Linked DNA regions of Homo sapiens: all the other regions are linked to region 2. Evidence: promoter capture Hi-C in 16 types of primary human blood cells and fetal thymus (Javierre and others, 2016). All regions are on one chromosome and are shown on one strand. Each heading gives the region's core, a stretch centred on a gene start or on the middle of the fragment in contact. The rest is flanking DNA. Distances are from core to core; before and after follow the strand shown. Region 1 holds the start of ATF6 (activating transcription factor 6). Region 2 holds the start of ADAMTS4 (ADAM metallopeptidase with thrombospondin type 1 motif 4). Region 3 holds the start of DUSP12 (dual specificity phosphatase 12).

Region 1 (3,147 bases), core at 150-2,649, 570 kb after region 2:
AGGCTGGTGTGCAGTGGTGCGATCTCCGCTCGCTGCAACCTCTGCCTCCCGCGTTCATGCGATTCTCCTGCCTCAGCCTCCCGAGTAGCTGGGATTACAGCTACTTGCCCGCCACCACGCCTGGCTAACTTTTTGTATTTTTAGTGGAGACAGGGTTTCACTATGTTGGCCAGGCTGGTCTCGAACTCCTGACCTCGTGATCCGCCCGCCTCGGCCTCCCAAAGTGCTGGGATTACAGGCGTGAGCCACCGCGCCCGGCCTTATTTTAGTTTTTTATGTCAATTTTTGAATTTGTAATTGGGTGAGAATTAAAGTGTTATAAATTTCACCTTAAGTGAAAATTTATTAGTTTTCTAATGACAAAAGTAGTTACATCTGACGTAAGGGGATTTAATTATCTTTTTCTGGGCTTGCGTCCCGGAACGCTGCTGCATTATGTAATCTGTAGTAATATACCCACGAGCAGTTTGGAGGGTTCTGGGAAGCACATTTGTTTTGCTTACCTACCATGGGAAAGATTCCACGTGGTCCTAGAAGCATACGTATTCGTCGGTTACAGTATTTTAAATATTCACTGGCCGCTGAAATTTAAAATGGATGAAAAAGAAATTCTCTTAAGTAGCGTTCTTGAAACTGCTTTATCAAACTCAGTTCATATTTTCAGTTGGAGTTCGTGATGTATGTGATTTTCCTTTAAATAAAACCCGAATCTTTAGTAATACAAATATTGGGAACTTCGATTACTGTAGGTCTTAGGGTAGACTCGCTTGGACTTTGACTAAATACTATGCTTTAGAAATTTATCTTTAGGAGATAAATTTGGGGGGTTTATCTTTTTATATTTGCTTTGTTTCAATTTATTTAAATAAAAGTAGTCTTTCTAGAAGTATGTTTTATAGTACCACTTACCTCGGTTACTGTCCCAGTTAAGCAGTTTTCACGAATGTGGAAAAATAGTAGTGTTTTTCTTTCATACACGCGTATATGAAAAATTTTTACATTGATAGAGAATTATTCGTAAAAATTAAAGTAAATTTACTGTTAGTCTCTAATTTTGTTCTGAGATAGCCACGCTGTGGCATTAAGAAGGATAATCAAGGAATAAGCCATAATGTTCAGAAAGGGGCTTTACTTTTTATTTTTAATATTATTGATAAACTTTGTTTAGTCGAATTGATGTCTGCGTGTCTTCCCCCGCCTTCCCCATAAAACAGCGGGACAGAAAGTCCTGAAAACTCCAAAAGGGAAATATTTACTCAGAGGTCTATTCAAATTTGCTTAGTCTCTGACGTTTTCCTGTGTCGTACAAATCCCTCGTGCGGCAAAAGTAGTTTGTCTTTACTAGGCCACCGTCTCGTCAGCGTTACGGAGTATTTTGTCCGCCTGCCGCCGCCGTCCCAGATATTAATCACGGAGTTCCAGGGAGAAGGAACTTGTGAAATGGGGGAGCCGGCTGGGGTTGCCGGCACCATGGAGTCACCTTTTAGCCCGGGACTCTTTCACAGGCTGGATGAAGATTGGGGTGAGTGGGATCTGAGAATGTACCAGGGTGGCTCGGGTTCGCGTCTAAAGGTTTCTTCCTCCCTACTTCCGCCCACTCGTGGTGACAGGTGTGGACCAACCCTGCCTGGGGAGTGAGGCCCCTCGTCACTCCTGTTCGTGCCCCTGGAAGAGTCTGGGAGTATCGTTCGGCTTCTGTCCTGGCCACAGGGAGAGTAGAATATTGTCTAACTGGAGTTAACTGTCGTTTTTCACTATTCCCACTGGGGAAGTACCGGGTGATCTTTTTGTGTGGCTAACACTGGACGTCTTTAGGAGGTTTAGAGCAAAATGGCTGGGACCGCCAAAAAGGCTACAAGCTATTTCCTGAGTGTGAAATGTGGGCGGTGAGCACAATGGAGTGGGTTTTTGTGTGTTTGGTGTATATGAGAGAATGTGGTTATATACAAGAAATTCTAATCTTACAGCTTTTACTATTGGTTTAAGCCTGATGTCCGTCTTGGCAGAAAAGCAAAACACCCAAGCACCTGACCTCGGGTCCCTGCTTAGCTACACCTAATACTTATGGTGTAATCCTGACTGCTCTCCAGATACAGCTCTTAATTTTCTTGTTAATGGATATTTTGTTTGGTTTTGGTGGTCAGGAAGGGTGGAATGGGATGAAGTGGAAATGAGAATGAAGAAACTTTGTTATCTAAGTATTTAGAGGAGACTTTTATTCTCCTCTTGATTGCAAGATATAATAGTAATATTGTTCTTAGGTTCCAATATGAATTTGGGATTGTGTAGGTTCCCAAATGGGCCCGCTAGTGAGCCTACACCACTCATCAGCCTTGGAACTGGGGGGAACCCAGTTTATCTTTCTCCCTTGGATCAGCATTCTCAATAGCAGGAGTGGAAGGAATCTCAACTTTTTATTGAACAAAGTCATTTAATTGTTTCAAGGACAGATGTTCTCTAAAACTATATTCTATTGGAGATTTATTTTAATCCTTGGGTAGATTTTTTAAGAGTTGCTGGAAAACTTAAGATTTTTTATTCCCATTTTCCCAAGCCAAATGCATTAGTGACAGTAACCATTTATTTAGCTCTTTGTGTCAGGGACCCTGTTAAACTCTTGACATGAAGTATTTTGTTTAATCCTACCAACAGTCCAATGAGGTACTGTTTATTTTAGAGATGAGGAAACTGAGGCTAACAGAATTTGTGCTCAGATTCTTAGAGCTAGTTAGTGGCAGAAGAAGGATCAGACCAGGTTTTTCTACCTCCAAAGTCTGTACCCCTAGCATCTATTCTATAATGCTTTCCTAACTCATGTCTACAGATTTTATTCTTCCTAAGATCCCTGGTTATTAATAAGACTACTTGAATATATTGGGTAGTTATGATTTATTTTGTCAGCTAGTCAGCTATTATATTTTCATGACATTTCTTTTCTTTACCTCTTTTTTTGAGATGGAGTTTCGCTTTTGTTGCCCAGGCTAGAGTGTAATGGCGCAATCTTGGCTCACCGCAACCTCCGCCACTCGGGTTTGAGCGATTCTCCTGCCTCAGCCTCCCGAGTAGCTGGGATTACAGGCATGCACCACCACGCCCGGCTAATTTTGTATTTTTAGTAGAGACGAGGTTTCTCCATGTTGGTTAGGC
Region 2 (3,406 bases), core at 664-3,163:
TGCGGGAGCCCCAGAGGTGAAAGCAGCCTGGACTGCCGTCAGGAGGGACTTTGGGGTTCTCCAGGCCTGAGTGTGGCTGGGGCCTATGGGACCAGGGCTAGAGGGCTGGGCTGCAACGTGTCTGCCCTGTGTGGTTGGAGGAACGATTCAGTCAGCAGCTAGGGCCAGGGCCAGAGCTCAGCGTGGCGGTTGTGGAGGGAGCGTCTGGTCTGGATTAAAGCTAGAGAGGGAGGAGGGAGGAGGGAAGGGAAGAAGGGGGAGACCAGGAGTGGGAGGGAGGAAAGGATGGAGCCTCAGGCAGCCTCGCAGTCCGGCCACAGTGTGTGAAGGGGATTGACCAGAAGGAGGTATGGGATACCCTCCCTCTCTTGCCACTCCTGCCCTAGTTTGCAGTTTGCCACAGTGATTTTAAAGGCAGCATCAGAAGCCAGACACCAAGCCCTAGGGCCTCAAACCTGACTCCTATAGCTGGGAGTGGGGGATGAAAATCAAATTTGGAGCAGAGAAAAGAGCCAAGGCCAAGGGGCTGTTAGGAGACCTTTACTGCTGGGGACTGTGTCAGTAGGAGATGCCATGGCCAGGAAGGGGTGGGGTGGGGAGAGGGAGCAGTTATTCCCAGCCCAGAGTCTGTGACCCACCTCTGAGAACCCTCGGTGGGTCTGGCTAGGAGAAGGGTGAAGGGGAGAGGCCTGAGCCTTACCAAGAAAGGAGGCTCATGGAGAAAGGAAAGGCAGGCAGAAGGGAGGGAAGCAGAACGGCCAGAAGTGTAAGTGGGTGGAGAGAGGGTGAATAGGGGTCAGTAGGACAGACATGGCGGGAGGACACCGCAGGACACAGACTCCAGAGATGCCTACCTTGGCTCTTCGGGGTCTGGGGCTGGGGCTTCCAAGAGGAGCCTTGACGTTGCACATGGGACCTTGACCGCTGGCAGGACTCTTCCGGCGTAGGATGTGAGCCCCAGGTCCCCCAGCAGAGTTAGGGGTGCCTCCCTCCAGGGGCTGGAGGTGGAGTTCAGCCCCCCGATATTGTAACACGCCTAACAGGGCTCCCCCATCCCAGTGCAGAGATGCCACCGACTCCGGATCTCCATTGATGGTGCCAGTCAGGTAGGTGCCAGGCTCTGCTCCACCCAGCAGCTCAGGCGCCTGGCCCAGGTACTGCACTGTCAGCCCCTCGACCTGCACACCGGAGTCCTGCTCCAGCTCTAGTAGCAGCGTCTCCCCAAAGGCCTGCAAGCGGCACAACAGCCTGGCAGGGGCGCCCGAGCCAGGCAGGACGCTGCCGTTGAGCTTCTCTGGAAACACGATCTCCTCCTCCCGGGGGAGGGGGCTGGCCAGCCGGGCTGAGGGCAGGAGAGAGGCCAGCAGTAGCAGAAGCAGCCACACCAGCCAGGAGAGCGGCACAATGGGGAGCAGGAGGCAGGGTTGGGCTCCCCACAGCCAGCGCCCTGCCAAGCCCCTCCCGGGATGCGAGCCTGTCTGGGACATGGCACTGGTACTGCAGCTGGGAGGGACTGAGGCCGTCTAGGGCACCAAGTCCTCCACACCCTAGCTTTGGAAAGCTCCTCTCTGTAGCCTGGGGGCTTGGACTCCTGCCAAGGTCAGAGGCAAAGTTTTCAGAAGGGCTGAGGACCGTTAAAGGAAATGGAGAAAACTTAGTCCTTGGGCTTGGGAGAGGTGCCCAGGGGTCTGGCTTCTCCAAACTCTCCTCCTGAGCCCTCCTTTCCTGGATCTTTGTCTCTCCCTGCCTGTGTCTTCTGCAGCTTCTCTGGCCTCTCCCTCTGTAGGACTCTGTCTGGGCCGCTTCTGTGCCTGCCCTGTCTCTGCCTTCTTCCGCTGTGCCTTTGTCTCTGTCTCTTTCCTCCTCTGTCTCTCTCGTGCATATGTGTCTGTGGGTCTCCCTGTGGGTTCTCCCCAGCCTCTCTCCGCGCCAGCTCTTTTAAGCATGGTGAGCCTCTGCGATTGATTGGCTGATCTCTAAGCCACTCAGCTGAGCTCTGTCGGTGGGACTCAGATGGGTGTATCATCGCTTCCCAAAAAAATGGGACTTGCCCAGGGGAGGGGAATCTCTAGCAGCCGAATGGATAATAGGCACTGGGCCAGCTGATGACATAGCCTTTTCCCAAACCCCACAATCAGCCCTCAGCTGTCTCTTTCCCTTTTTGGTGGGACAGAGCCCCAGGAGAGGCAGAGAGTGAGGGAAAGGGCCTGGCCGGCATGCACAGATAGGATCACGGTCCTGGGAGAATTCCTGCTCTTATAGTCTAACCTACCATGGCTTCTCTTTTCTCAAGGCTCCCTCATGCTGCCCTTTGGCCCTAGTGGCTGGTTTCCAGGGCTGAGGGGACTGAGTGAGCTGCCTGAGAAAAGAGGGTAGGGAACAGGTAAGGAGGCATCAAGAGGGAAGAACAAATAAAAGAGGTAGCTTGACATGGCTCAGGATAGAACTGAGCAGCTGGGAAGAGTAAAAAAGGCAGAACATTGGGGGAGGCAAGGAGACAGTGATCAGGGAGTTGACTGCCCAAAGGTAGGATGATCCTGCTTGGAATGAACATAACAGAGGCGGCAGATGACAAGGCAGGAGGGGTTAACGACTTTTCCTTTTATAGAAGGCGGATCCAGGGTGGCACCTCCTCTTTTCTAACGTCCCTTCTCTCCCTCAGGATCCCCCTTCCTGAGTTACCACTACCCACCCCCTCCAAAGCCCAGAACAGCCATTCCGCCTCCATTTCCCCCCAGGGTTCCCCCTCCCCACTTCCTGACTCCCCATTTCCCTGGCCCAGCTCCCAGTAGCTTCCCCCAGGCTTTTGGCCCTGCTCCTACCCACTCCCAACTGCCCTAAACCCTCCCCCAGCCTCAAGTCAGCCAGCCCCCAGCATAGGCAAGACTTGCTCTCAGGAACCCAGATTCACCCAGTATCAATCTGGGAGAATCCCCACCTGGCTCCCACCATCCACCCCACCTTGCTCTGAGAACCCAGTGGTTCCTGGAATATCTAGTCATCTTTTCTTTTTAATTCTCCCTGGGGCAGGGAGAGGGTGGAGACAGCATTGTGCATATAGGGAAATTAGGGTACTGGGAGAAATCCATTGCCTGGGGTGGGGAAAGTGGCTGGGGAGGAAGAGGTGGTGTTAGGGAAAGGAAGCAAATTATTCCTTTGGCTTTGGATAGGAGGGAACTCGGAAAAGAGGTCTTGGGTATGAACTCTCAAGGCAAGGAAGGGTTCAGAAGTAGGGGCAATTTCTGCTCACCCCATCCTCTGGCTGCTTGTTTCCCCAGGAAATCCCCAGGAAGGAGAGTGCAGTCAGCAGTCTCTTTCCTTTCCCAGAAGTGGACCACCTCCTCTTGCCTCTATTCCCCTATTCACTCTGCTTTGTCACCTCCTGTCCCCCGCATATCATATCCGT
Region 3 (3,407 bases), core at 695-3,194, 550 kb after region 2:
CTCCGTGGGAACTTGCACAGGAAGGAGGGGGGCTTACCTAAAACAAACCTACAGTGATACAAACAAGAGAACCCACGCTTTGTGCTTGCCTAGAGACATACCCACATCGGCAGAAGATAAGGGAAGTTGCACAGACAGATTTATTCATAAGAGAAGTTACTCAAACAACTATAGAGATGAGAGGAGTTTCTTATAATAGGTTTTGAATTCAGCTGTAAAAATGGCACCCCACTTGGGCTCCCCTCTCTGCTGTGGAGAGCTTTCTTCTTTTGCTTATTAAACTTTTGCTTCAACCTCACTCTTTGTGCCCATGCTCCTTAGTTTTCTCGGTCGTTAGACAAGTTCGGATAACACCTTAGACAATGAGACCATTAACCCTTACCTGTTTCAACATTTTTATCAAATCCAAGGCCATGAAGCTTTCCCCCTATGTTTTCTACTAAGAATGTTATATTTTTAGGTCTTTAATCTATTTGGAGTTATTTTTTGTGTATGGTCCAAGGTAAAGGTCCATCTTCATTCTTTTGCATGTGGATATCTAGTTTTTCCCAACACTGTTGAGGAGATTGTCCTTTTTCCATTGTGTGGTCTTGGCACTCTTTTTGAAGATTATTCTAACATATATGCAGTGTTGCAGGTGATTAGCAGCTTTCTGGGCTGGTGACATGGGTGGTAGGAAGAATTTACCAACACAGTTGTAGGTAAAGAAAGGCAGGTTTATTAGATAAAGTATGAAAATACATTGCAAGGGTGCAACAGGCAGGTCAGCAAGAGAGAAGCTGACTGCTAGGAAACAAAGGCTTGCTGGGGATTTTGTAGAATGGTGCTTATGTTGTGGGTGGAAGAGGGCTTTGTGCAGTACTAATAATGCCAGGGTTGCAGTGAACTAACTTCCATTTTTCTATCAGCTGAGGGTCTGGTGATGGCTGGGCACAGGCAGATTGTGAGTTATTTGCACAGCAGGGCTATGTGTCCTGGACCACGAAGAAAGGCAGACTTATGGCTTGTCTGCTTTCTCCTTTTGCTTCCCTTCGTCCAGCCAGCCTGACTCCTTTTCCCTAATTAGGACTCCACACGCAAGGGTTTGTTCTGTTCCAGAATAGAGACACGTCGATGTATCTATCTTTATACCAGTACTATAGCTGCTACTTCTTGACCAATTACAGCTTTAGTATCTCTCTCACCTGTCCTCCCTATACAAAAGATATATAAAATATACTCACTGTACTGAGTATCTTCCTGCAGCATTCAGTCTGGAGCAAAGCCTGCTTCCTTCAACCCTTTCCAAAATCCCCAAATAAAAGCCCAAAATCTGTAGAGGATCTTCCTAACATCCTCGTGCTGAGATGCCCTGAAATTCTCCATAACTCATGACTGAGTAATAAAACCAACTTGCTTAATTAAAGTTGGTTTCTTGTAGTCCTGGCCGGAGGACATTGACTTACAAAAATATAGGATTAGTATCTTCAAAATAAATAGACAGTAAACATCAACAAGGATTCACACCCCAATAATGAAATTGGGCAGAAAAAGGAAAAATAATCATGAAATGCACAGTAAAGATGGCTCCATAATATTGAAAAAAATTTTACTTCAAATGCATAAAATGATGCTTCTGATTCAGCTGGTGCGACATTTATTTCACATTTGAGTTCAGCTGCTCCTGATGTCTCTTTCCTGAAAATTTCAATACTAAGAGCTCGAGAAACCCTGTATTTGGGGAAGCTTATCCTTCACCATCAACTTTGGGGGTAGGGGTCAGAGGGAACAAGGGTGGAAAGGCCGCGCTGAATGGGGCCGAAGCTCCGCCCCTCAGCGATAAGTCCAGATTCCTGCGGCCGACGTGGTCCTCCGAGGGAGCAGCAGAGCCGCCGAGGCTGGCGAGTCCCAGGGGAAGGATGTTCTAGCCGGAGTCTACTCGATGGTAGGGCAGGAAGCCGCCTTGTCTCTGGGCGCGGCCATGTTGGAGGCTCCGGGCCCGAGTGATGGCTGCGAGCTCAGCAACCCCAGCGCCAGCAGAGTCAGCTGTGCCGGGCAGATGCTGGAAGTGCAGCCAGGATTGTATTTCGGTGGGGCCGCGGCCGTCGCGGAGCCAGATCACCTGAGGGAAGCGGGCATCACGGCCGTGCTAACAGTGGACTCGGAGGAGCCCAGCTTCAAGGCGGGGCCTGGGGTCGAGGATCTATGGCGCCTCTTCGTGCCAGCGCTGGACAAACCCGAGACGGACCTACTCAGCCATCTGGACCGGTGCGTGGCCTTCATCGGTCAGGCCCGCGCTGAGGGCCGTGCGGTGTTGGTGCACTGGTGAGTGGCCGGGTCAGTGGGTGACGTGCCCCGCCAAGCTTCCAGCCGGCCCCCGTCGCCCCTTACCTTCCGAGGCCGTCGGGAGGACAAGAGCGCGGTCATGCCGCGTGAACCTCCTCCCGCTGCCTCCCGCAGGAGGCGTGTTTCCAAGAGAGGAGGAGGGTTGAGGCGGGCCCCTGGTGTGTGCAGGCTTTCATTCATTCATGCTTTAGTTGGTTCTTCCTGCAGCAGCAGAGGGCGGGGGAGGTGTCATCTGATAAATGACAAATTACCTACACCCTAAGGAGTTTACAGCTCTGTTGGAGAAGCTAGACACCCACCCCGATTATTGTAATGCAGATTAGGTTGCTTGGTGTCTTGTAAACGGGATTTACAAAGATTTAGGGTTAAATGTTTTTGTTTGGGATGGGTGGCGGGTGGTTGATGAAGAGATGAATTGGTTTGGATCTAAAGGATCCCTGGGCTTTGCCTAGGGAGGAGATGGTTGCAGCAAAGACAAAAAGAAAATGGGAATCCCGCAGGGCGCGGTGGCTCACGCCTGTAATCCCAGCACTTTGGGAGGCAGGAGGATCACAAGGTGAGGAGTTCGAGATCAGGCTGGCTAATATGGTGAAACCAAAAATACAAAAATTAGCCGGGCGTGGTGGCTCTCGCCTGTAGTCCCAGCTACTCGGGAGGCTGAGGCAGGAGAATCACTTGAACCTGGGAGGCGGAGGTTGCAGTGAGCCGAGGTCATGCCACAGCACTCCAGCCTGGGCAACAGAGCGAGACTCCATCCCTCCCCCCAAAAAAAGAAAATGGGAATCCCTAAGCAGTTCTTGGTTGGATTGGAGTATAATAATCGTTTAAATTTATTGAGCACATAAAAGAAGATAGTGATGAAATCAAAAGAAGTCTGGGACCAGATTTTGAGGTCCCTGAATGCTAAGATGAAAGGAGATTGGATTTGTTTTTGTTTTGTTTTATTTATTTTTATTTTGATATAGGGTCTTGCTCTGTCACCCAGGCTACAGTGTAGTAGCGTAATTACGGCTCACTGCAGTCTCAACCTCCCAGGCTCAAGTGAACCTCCTGCCTCGGCCTCCAGAGTAGCTGGGACTACA

Evidence for each region. Contacts are between HindIII fragments. The CHiCAGO score rates a contact against its expected background, and 5 or more counts as called.
Region 1: the fragment with the promoter of ATF6 here is called in contact with the fragment with the promoter of ADAMTS4 in region 2 in 1 of 17 cell types (neutrophils); the score reaches 5.8 in neutrophils.
Region 3: a contact is called between the fragment with the promoter of DUSP12 here and the fragment with the promoter of ADAMTS4 in region 2, in 7 of 17 cell types (erythroblasts, naive B cells, neutrophils and 4 more). The highest score is 7.7, in erythroblasts.

The regions. Positions count from the first base shown.
Region 1 is chr1:161,764,921-161,768,067 of GRCh38, forward strand. ATF6 (activating transcription factor 6) reads left to right here and starts at 1,400. Exons shown (of 16, transcript NM_007348.4): 1 at 1,400-1,522. The coding sequence starts at 1,441. It overlaps ATF6-DT (ATF6 divergent transcript), which reads right to left and starts at 1,227. Exons shown (of 3, transcript NR_187280.1): 1 at 910-1,227; 2 at 504-581. LOC124904444 (a long non-coding RNA gene) reads left to right here and starts at 1,529. Exons shown (of 2, transcript XR_007066695.1): 1 at 1,529-1,886. RefSeq lists enhancers at 1,218-1,297, 1,328-1,407. The HindIII fragment of the contact is 8,902 bases long and covers 1-3,147 here.
Region 2 is chr1:161,197,141-161,200,546 of GRCh38, forward strand. It overlaps ADAMTS4 (ADAM metallopeptidase with thrombospondin type 1 motif 4), which reads right to left and starts at 1,914. Exons shown (of 9, transcript NM_005099.6): 1 at 855-1,914. The coding sequence starts at 1,487. It also overlaps a transcript of NDUFS2 not described here. RefSeq lists enhancers at 1-653, 3,179-3,406. The HindIII fragment of the contact is 11,321 bases long and covers 1-3,406 here.
Region 3 is chr1:161,747,842-161,751,248 of GRCh38, forward strand. DUSP12 (dual specificity phosphatase 12) reads left to right here and starts at 1,945. Exons shown (of 6, transcript NM_007240.3): 1 at 1,945-2,304. The coding sequence starts at 1,961. RefSeq lists enhancers at 1-22, 123-172, 1,744-2,253, 2,315-2,961. The HindIII fragment of the contact is 617 bases long and covers 1,724-2,340 here.